2 separate regions of the Homo sapiens genome follow, and region 2 is linked to region 1. The links are contacts of gene promoters, found by promoter capture Hi-C in blood cells and fetal thymus (Javierre and others, 2016). All regions are on one chromosome and are shown on one strand. The core of a region is centred on a gene start or on the middle of the fragment in contact, and the rest is flanking DNA. Distances in the headings are between cores, read along the strand shown. Region 1 holds the start of AGMAT (agmatinase (putative)). Region 2 holds the start of NECAP2 (NECAP endocytosis associated 2).

Region 1 (4,713 bases), core at 1,245-3,744:
TGTCATTTTAAGTATTTGTGAACAAGAGAAAAAGTGAGAGTGGGTCAGGGGTGAGGATAAGGGGAAAGCTGCCCTATAGGTTGATGTAGACCCTGAGCAGGACAAAAACACCCTCTTTGCAGTTCTCCTCGCAAATAAAGTCATTAGAAACATCATCTTGGCCAGGCGCGGTGGCTCATGCCTGTAACCCCAGCACTTTGGGAGGCCAAGGTGGGCGGATCACTTGAGGTCAGGAGTTCAAGACCAGCCTGGCCAACATGGCAAAACCCCGACTCTACCAAAAATACAAAAATTAGCCAGGCATGGTGGTGGGCGCCTGTAATCCCAGCTACTTGGGAGGCTGAGGCAGGAGAATTGCTTGAACCCAGGAAGTGGAGGTTGCAATGTGCCGAGATTGCACCACTGCACTCCAGTCTGGGTAACAGAGTGAGACTGTCTCACACACACACATACACACACACGTGAAATATTCTCTCCCCAGGGATTAAAATAAATGAATTACAATGCTCTCTTTCCTACTGTCTGCACATTTGCAGTGGCTTGCAGGGGAGAAGTAGCTGTACTCAAGCCCCTGAGTACAGGATAAGTAAACCCTGAGTGCAGGGAACTACTCTGGCTCTTGCAGACTGACATTACCCAAGGTCAGAGGAATACAGCCAGCTGCTACAATTTTCTCATAGGCCTCTTGAATTCGCCGGCAGCTGTCCTGAAGGTTGTAAAGATTGACATTCACATCGCCTAGGTCTGCAACCATGAGGGACTGGAAGGGGAGGGCCCCCGTGCTAGGATTGACTGTCCCAAGCATCACTGATTCTTCCCGGATGCGGCGAGGTCCGAATCTGCAGAAGGAAGAATCATCCTGTCAGCCATCATCTGCAGAGATTTCAGGCTTTGCTTAGGCCAGGGCTTCTCAGCCTCAGCAATTTGGGGCCAGATGATTCCGTGTCGCGGCATTGCATAATGGAATGCTTAGCAGCATCCCGGCCTGTACTCACTAGGTGCCAGTAGCACCCTTCCTCCAAGGTGTAACAACCCAAAACGCCTCCAGATACTGCCAAATGTCCCCGGAGTGCAAAACCGCCCCACTTGAGAATCACCGATCTAGGCTATGTATCGAAGAGACTAAATAAGTGTACTAAATGGCATTAGTGAATTTCATGATCTACCTGAGTCTCAGTTTCCTAATTTGTAAAATATTTACCTTGCACTGTAGTAAAAATTAAATGAGGTAATCTATGCAAAGCACCTTGCACTTAGGAGACATTTAATAAGTGCTGGCTTTCATAATTCAGATCAGTACGGTCAGATATAGTGTTGCTGAGCTGAATCAGAAATTGCTGACGTTCAATAACTAGGAAGATGAATTTTGCTTCCTCCGACTTGATCCTAGGAAAATTGCCTTCATTTGAGCATTTCTTGAGTCAGGTGACATCTTCAGATTTGGGGAAGGGGCAGCCAGTTTCTGCTCTCAAATGCAATGTCACCTGCCACTGTAAGCTGGGGAGAGGAGAGGGGAGGAATCCACAGCAGCCATCCCAGCAAGGCCCCAGGATGGGGACACAGAGAAGGTTCAGGCTCCAGAATCCCTTCTTTTTTCTTTTTTTGAGACGGAGTCTCACTCTGTTGCCCAGGCTGGAGCGCAGTGGCGCAATCTCAGCTCACTGCAACCTCCGTCTCCCGGGTTCAAGCGATTCTCCTGCCTCAGCCTCCCGAGTAGCTGGGATTACAGGCCCGCGCCACCATGCCCGGCTTTTTTTTTCTTTTTTTTGTACCTTTGTAGAGACAGAGTTTCACCATGTTGGTCAGGATGGTCTCGAACTCCTGACCTCGTGATCCGCCCGCCTCAGCCTCCCAAAGTGCTGGGATTACAGGCATGAGCCACCGGGCCGGCCAAAATCCCTTCTTGACCAATGATGACACTAAGATGTGGGAGGCCACGCCCATGTTGAGCCCTGGGGTTTGCTTATTGAGGGTCCAGGTAAATCAACCATCTCAAACCATAAGGGGCATTTTGGAGCCGGCCACCAGCTTCCAACTCGACCCGGGGCCAGCAGGGGCGCCTGTCTCGGTGCTTTCCATGCCCGACAGCCAGCAAGCAGTCCCTCCACGTGTACCCGGCCCCCGTCCTTCCGGCCTTACCTCGCCCCAGGCCGGTTGGAGGTCCCAGTATCCAGGGGCACCCCGATGAAGGCAGCGTCCAGCCCCTCGGGGGAGGTCTGCACCGGCAGGCGCATCATGGAGCAGACGCCCACCGGCCGGGCCACGAACTCGGGGCTGGGGGGCTGGTTCCGGGGCGCGTCGGAAGCCTGGCGGCTCTGGCGGCGCCCCGGATGAAAGAGCCCTGCGGCAGGACGCGCGCCCACGCCGGGCCCCGGGCCCCGGGCGCACCCGGACGCCAGCAGCCTCAGCATTGCCGCGCGCGGCCAAGACCTCACCGACCAAACCGCCCGCGAGGCCGCCGCGATCTGGCTGGTCCCGAACGGCGAGGCGAGTGTGCACGCGCCAGAGCCGGAACCCGAGCCGGCTCAAAGGTCAGGGGCGCCCTAGGATCAAGGCGGGGGAGGGGCCCCAGGACCTGCCGTGCTCTCCCCTCAACCCCTCTGGACTTCAGCCTCTGGCAAATAGAGTCAGGCTGGGGGTGCCCACTGGCCGGCACTGTGCCAGGGGTGTCTGCGCCCTGCTCCCCACTGTGGCCTTCAGCAGCCTCTTCTCCCATTCAGAGTAATTGTTTGTTTTTATAGAGACGGTCTCACTGTGTTGCCCAGACTGGTCTCCAACTTCTGGACTCAAGTGATTCTCCCACCTTGGCCTCCCAAAGTGCTGGGATTACAGGTGTGAGCCACAGCAGCCACCCCAGAGTAATATTTTTAAAGCCAGAAAGATATGAAGGAAAATGATCTTTCTCTAAGCCAGAAAAATAGGAAATGCATTTTTTTAAATAATGTATTTTTAAATGTCCAGGGATAGGAATCTCAAGAAGCAGTAAAGTTAGTTAGCTACTTAGCTAGCTAGCTAGTTATTTTGAGACAGGGTCTTGCTGTGTTGCTCAGGCTGGAGTGCAGTGGCACAATCATAGCTCACTGCAGCCTCAAACTGCTGGGCTCAAGCAATCGTCTCACCTCAGCCTCCCGAGTAGTTGGGACTACAAGCGTGAGCCATCGCGCCTGGCCAGTAAAGTCTTTTTAAATAACCTTGTTAAAAAAGGACTAGAGGCCAGGGGCGGTGGCTCACGCCTGTAATCCCAGCACTTTGGGAGGCTGAGGCGGGCGGATCACGAGGTCAGGAGATCGAGACCATCCTGGCTAACACGGTGAAACCCCATCTCTACTAAAAGTACAAAAATTTAGCCGGGCATGGTGGCAGGTGCCTGTAGTCCCAGCTACTTGGGAGGCTGAGGCAGGAGAATGGCATGAACCCGGGAGGCGGAGCTTGCAGTGAGCTGAGATCAGGCCACTGCACTCCAGCCTGGGCAACAGAGCAAGACTCCGTCTCAAAAATAAATAAATAAATAAATAAATAAATAAATAAATAAATAAAGGACTTACAGGCAAGCTGTAAGGAAGGTCACAGTGCCAGAGAACCTGTTACATCCTCTTTATTTCTAAGGGGAAAGAAAAACACACGTGGAAAGAAAGAAGTGATTTGTAATGGAATTATGTGAGCCATTTAGCAGTATTATATATATTATTTTTTCTGATCTCTAAATGTTGAGATTGAATGGAAAAGGCTCACATTTGCATTTACGTTGCAACCTCTACACAAAGGTTGCACATTAGGCCAGGCGCGGTGGCTCACACCTGTAATCCCAGCACTTTGGGAGGCCGAGGTGGGCGGATCATGAGGTCAGGAGATGAGACCATCTTGGCTAACATGGTGAAACCCCATCTCTACTAAAAATACAAAAAATTAGCCAGGCGTGGTGGTGGGCACCTGTAGTACCAGCTACTCGGGAGCCTGAGGCGGGAGAATGACGTGAACCCGGGAGGGTGGAGTTTGCAGTGAGCCAAGATCGCGCCACTGCACTCCAGCCTGGGCAACACAGCAAGACTCTGTCAAAAAAAAAAAAAAAGGTTGCACATTAAACCCCACACCACTCCAGCCTCCACTCTGGAGTGGAGCCTCCACTCTGCAGGTCGGGACAGAGTTTCCTAATGGTCAATTATCAGTGCTTAGTGTTGGCCTTGGGGCAGGTCCCAGCCATTTTCTGGAACAAATGCAACAATCTCTCAGTTATTTTTTCCTTTTTTTCTCCCTTATGCCACTTAAAGGGTCTCAGTTATTCTCTTGACTCCCAAATTCAACTGCTATTTCTTTCATGTTGCTTGTCCTGAATGTATCATGTTCTTACTCCGGGTTTTTCTTTCATTCAGCTCACAAATATTGAGTGTCCGCTATGTGCCAGGCGTTCCAATGAGGTGTCCCCAACATCCACTACTGCTGAGCACCCTCTCTCCTTGAAACGTTCCTCAGGCGGCCTCTTGACTGGGACTCCCCTGGTCTCCTTCCACCTTCGTGGCTCCTTCTCGGCTGGCAATCCCTTTTAATACGGAGGTGATGACTTTCACCCATAGGCAGGTCAACCACAAGCCCAAATCCCAGCCCTGAGCTCCAGGCGACCAATTTCTAACCCTGACCTGGATGCTTGACAGCACCTGGGGTGGGCTGCAAGTTCAGCCAGCGACTTTCCACCTCCCTGTCTCTGATCCTGCTCTA
Region 2 (4,713 bases), core at 714-3,213, 860 kb after region 1:
AACAGGACTAGAACAAGTGTTTGAACACCAATGCTCATAGTAGCCCGATTCCCAATACCAAAAGGTGATAACATCCCAATTGTTGACAGATGAATGGATAAACAAAATATGGTATATACATGCAATGGAATATTATCCCTCCATTAAAAGGAATGAAATTCTGATCCATGCTACATGAAAGAACCTTGAAAACTTGATGCTAAGTGAAATAAGAAACACAAAAGCCCAATATTGTATGATTCCACTTATAAGAGGTATCTAGAAAAGGCAAATTCATAGAGACAGAAAGTAAAACAGAGGTTACTAAGGGATGGAGCAGAAGGAAATGGGAAGTTATTGCTAATGGGTGTGGAGTTTCTGTTTGGGATGATGAAAAGTTCTGGAAAGCATGATATAGTTGCACAATATTGTGAATGTACTTAATTTCACAGCATTGTACACTTAAAATGGTAAATTTTATGTTATGTATATTTTACAATAAAAATGTAAGTGGTTAGATCAATCCTATAATAAAAAGCTTATAAAAAATGAGTAGAAATGGCCAGTCGTGGTGGCTCACGCCTGTAATCCCAGCACTTGGGAGGCCGAAGTGGGCGGATCACTTGAGGTCAGGAGTTCAAGATCAGCTTGGCCAACCAGATGAAACCCCCGTCTCTACCAAAAAAATACAAAAACTAGCCAGGCTTGGTGGTGGGTGCCTGTAATCCCAGCTACTCGGGAGGCTGAGGCAGGAGAATCGCTTGAACCCGGGAGGTGGAGGTTGCAGTGAGCCGAGATTGCACCACTGCACTCCAGCCTGGGCGGCAGAGTGAGACTTTGTCTGAAGAAAAAAAAAAAAAAAAGTAAAAAGGAGAAGGAGAGTGAGAGAGAAAAGGAAAGAAGGGGTGGGGAAAGTTTGGGGTATTCAGTGAATCAGAAGTTTGGGATCAGCTTCACCCCCACATAGGGGCTGGCACATTGCAGGCACTCAACTCAATGAGAGAATGGTAGGGAAGGAGGGATTTTGAGAATTTGGCTAGGGTAGACATTGTATCTCCCAGAATATTCTGGGAGAAATCGAAGTTAAGACTGGAATTCTTCTTCTTCTTTTTTTTTTTTTTTGAGACAGAGTCCCGCTCTGTCACCCAGGCTGAGGTGCAGTGGCACAATTTCAGCTCACTGCAACTTCCGCATTCCGGGTTCAAGCGATTCTAGTGCCTCAGTCTCCCAACTAGCTAGGACTACAGACACACGCCACCAAGCCCGGCTAATTTTTGTATTTTTAGTAGAGACGGGGTTTCACCATGTTGGCCAGGCTGGTCTCGAACTCCTGACCTCAGGTGATCCGCCCGCCTCAGCCTCCCAAAGTGCTGGGATTACAGGCGTGAGCTACCAAGCCCGGCCTGGAATTCTTCTTAAATTACTTGTGTTACTAAACTTTACTTCTTTGAATACAACTCGTTGTTGAGGTTTGGCCACACGGGGCCCTGAGCATATAAGTGGGTTCCCCTAGGGGAAGCATGGAGGGTGGTAGGGTAATGGCATCTATTTAGTCTGGTGGGTCAGGTGCCAGCTGAGCCTTACAGTCAGGAGAGGGAAGGATATTCAGGCAGAGGAGGCGCCGAGGCAAAGGCTGGAGGACAGAGATACTGCAGGGTGGGCTACAGCTTTGCCTCTCGGTCAACTGGGCCCCAGGCCTAAGAAACTGAAGCGATGGGGATGATCCACACCCAGACCACGGGTTACAGAGGGGTCTGTCCATGGCGGGCGCAGGGCGCTTTCTTTGCGTCGGAGGGTGTCTGGAGGGAAGGAGAAGCCTCTGGAGGGAGGGAGAAGCCTCCGGAGGTCGCCCGCCACGTGTCTTGAGCCGGGTTTCCAGCAGAGGGCGCACAAACGAGGCGGTGCTGAGGCCCGCGAGCTGCCGCTCTAGCCGAAACCTGGTCAGAGAGTCGCACCGCTTCCGTCCGTCGGACAGAGGAACGGTGGAAGTCGCCGGAAGTTCGGTGGGCTCCAGGCGTCGCGATGGAGGAGAGCGGGTACGAGTCGGTGCTCTGTGTCAAGCCTGACGTCCACGTCTACCGCATCCCTCCGCGGGCTACCAACCGTGGCTACAGGTGACTACCCACCGCCAGACCAGGCTAGCTCCAATTTAACCCTTTCTCCGCCACCCGGACACACCCACTGCGGGAACCGAGGACAGCCCTGGCCAGTTTTGGGGCGAGGGGGAGCTAATGCTGCTGCTTCTTCCAGTTCCAGGCCCGAGCAGGGAGGTGGATCCAGAGTTTCGCCCGTCTCAGTTCGACGCACGGGACTCCTGGCGGCGGGGAGGGCGTTAAAGCCGTATCTAGCGCTTAGGGACCCCGGTGGGCTGCCGGGTACCCTAAACTTGGTCGGGGGTGGTGATGTCACAGACGCTTCTCTTTCAGCGCTAACCGGTGGCCTTGAAGGGATCCTCGAAAAGCCTTAAGCGGGGAGGTGCCCTATCACAGACGGAAATCCCCGAGAGGAGGGGAGGGAGCCCAGAGCCGGCTGAAAGGACCGGTCCCGGGGAGCTTTAAGGTGACGGTCGAAGCCCAGGGACCCCTTCCTACCCAGATCCCTTCGCACGAATTTCACCCTTGATCACAGCCTGGAGCAGTTGGGAGGACCCCTTCTATATTTCTCTGGTCTCTACCTGAGACGAATAAACACACACGCTTGTAAACATACTGAGTATCTCTGCAAAGGAACACAGGAAACTGCCCTAGGGGAGGGGAACCGCCCTTGGAAGGAAACTTCCTTTCCCTTTTGTGCTGTTTGCGTTTTACTACTCTTTGTATGCGTTATCTATCAAAACGACGAAAAATATTAAAAGAAAAAAGATACACTTCATACAGACAACCTGGCCTATGGCTATTTTGTGCCACTGAGTGGTGGTGGGGAGTGCTCGTATTTGCGGGGGCCTGGGTGGCTCTTGAAGGCGATGGTTGTCCAAGTTTTTCGGAAATACAGGATTGGTCTGCACCCCAAGAATGATGGAACGTCCACATTTCCTCTTGTTACTTTCCAGTTGTGTTACCGTGGGCTCATAGCTGATCTTATGGTGAAAAGATGCGTTAGTGAACATTACATTCATGACATATTTTAAAATAGTATAAAAACAAAAACAACAATAACCAAAATACATTTGTTTTCTGTCATCAAACTGTGGTTGGACCATCAAACCATTGATGGTCGTCTAGCCCCATCTCCTGTTGGGTCTTTTTTTTTTTTTTTTGAGACAGAGTTTCCCTCTTGTTGTCCAGGCTAGAGTGCAATGGTGCGATCTCGGCTCACTGCAACCTCCGCCTCCCGGATTCAAGCGATTCTCCTGCCTCAGCCTCCCGAGTAGCTGGGATTACAGCCATACACCACCACACCCGACTAATTTTGTGTTTTTAGTAGAGATGAGATTTCTCCATGTTGGTCAGGCTGGTCTCGAACTCCCTACCTCAGGTGGTCCACTCGCCTCGGCCTCCCAAAGTGCTGGGATTACAGGCAGGATCCACCGCGCCCGGCCCCCTATTGGGTCTTTAGTAGGATGGATTTGGTTCCTCTTGGTGCCCCAGAGAGCGAGGTTATGAATTGTCAGGGCTGGCTGGTTTAGCTTAGAGGAAACTACCAGTGCCTGCACTTAAGTCTTGGAGCTCTCCTTAGCCTGAATCTCAGGCCTGGTAAGAGGAACAGGAACTGAGTCTGCTGATTTGTGAATTGAGAATCTGCATTTGTGCAGCCCTCAAGACAGCCGCGTCCAGGGTTCTTGAGAACTGGCATAGGGACTTCTAAGAAAAGCCTCCTGGAAACACCTGCGGTTCTTGCTATTTGGGGATTTAACTGACCTTTTCTTAGAACTAAAATGTGAAGTTAATGCTTTAAAAGAGTCAAAACAGCTGGCTGTGGTGGCTCACGCCTGTAATCCCAACACTTTGGGAAGCCTCGGTGGAAGGATCCCTTGAGCCCAAGACTTCAGGACCAGCCTGGGCAACATAGACCCTATCTCTATAATTTTTTTTAATTGGCCTGGTGTGTTGGTACACACCTGTAGTCCCAGCTACTCAGGAGGCTGAGGTGGGAGGATCTCTTGAGCTCAGGAGGTTGAGGCTTCAGTGAGCCGTAGTTGCGCCACTGCACTTCAGCCCGGGTGACAGAGTGAGACCCCGTCTCAAACAAATTAGAGCCAAAAGAGGCATTGCTGTAGGTTCATGGTTTCCTGGGTTTCTTCCTAAGGACCCATTCACTTTTCTCACATGTACTGTTGTTCTCCTTTTCTCTTCTGGTGATTGTTCCATGCTGTCTTTTTCTTTCAAGATAGTCTCACTGGTCTCAAATGGTCGCTCTGACTGCTGCAGTCAAGCAGTGTCAGAAACAGAATCAGGCCCCTGCAGCTGCTGCTTCTATAGAAAGGAAACTGGAAGGAAGTCCTACGTGGAGGAGGACACTGTGGTCTAGAGAGGGGGTCACCAAGTGACAACCCAGTGTGTTTTTGTATGGTTCACACCTAAGAATAGTTTTTACATTTTTTAAATGGTTTGGAAAATTTTTAAAGGAGAGTATTTCATACTGGGAACATTACATGAATTTCAGATTTCAGTGTCTACACTTTGATTGAAATACAGCTGTGCTCAGTAGAAAATAGTTAAGATACCTAAAGCATCACCACGTGCATGTTCTATACTGATTTTACCCTACAGCAGCCGAGCTGCCTTGTTGTGACAG

What was found. Contacts are between HindIII fragments. The CHiCAGO score rates a contact against its expected background, and 5 or more counts as called.
Region 2: the fragment with the promoter of NECAP2 here is called in contact with the fragment with the promoter of AGMAT in region 1 in 3 of 17 cell types (fetal thymus, non-activated CD4 T cells and activated CD4 T cells); the score reaches 6.7 in fetal thymus.

What each region holds. Positions count from the first base shown.
Region 1 is chr1:15,582,557-15,587,269 of GRCh38, forward strand. AGMAT (agmatinase (putative)) reads right to left here and starts at 2,495. Exons shown (of 7, transcript NM_024758.5): 1 at 2,140-2,495; 2 at 637-839. The coding sequence starts at 2,411. RefSeq lists an enhancer at 1,988-2,037 and a silencer at 2,148-2,477. The HindIII fragment of the contact is 7,120 bases long and covers 1-4,713 here.
Region 2 is chr1:16,438,761-16,443,473 of GRCh38, forward strand. NECAP2 (NECAP endocytosis associated 2) reads left to right here and starts at 1,964. Exons shown (of 8, transcript NM_018090.5): 1 at 1,964-2,093. The coding sequence starts at 2,002. The HindIII fragment of the contact is 8,327 bases long and covers 516-4,713 here.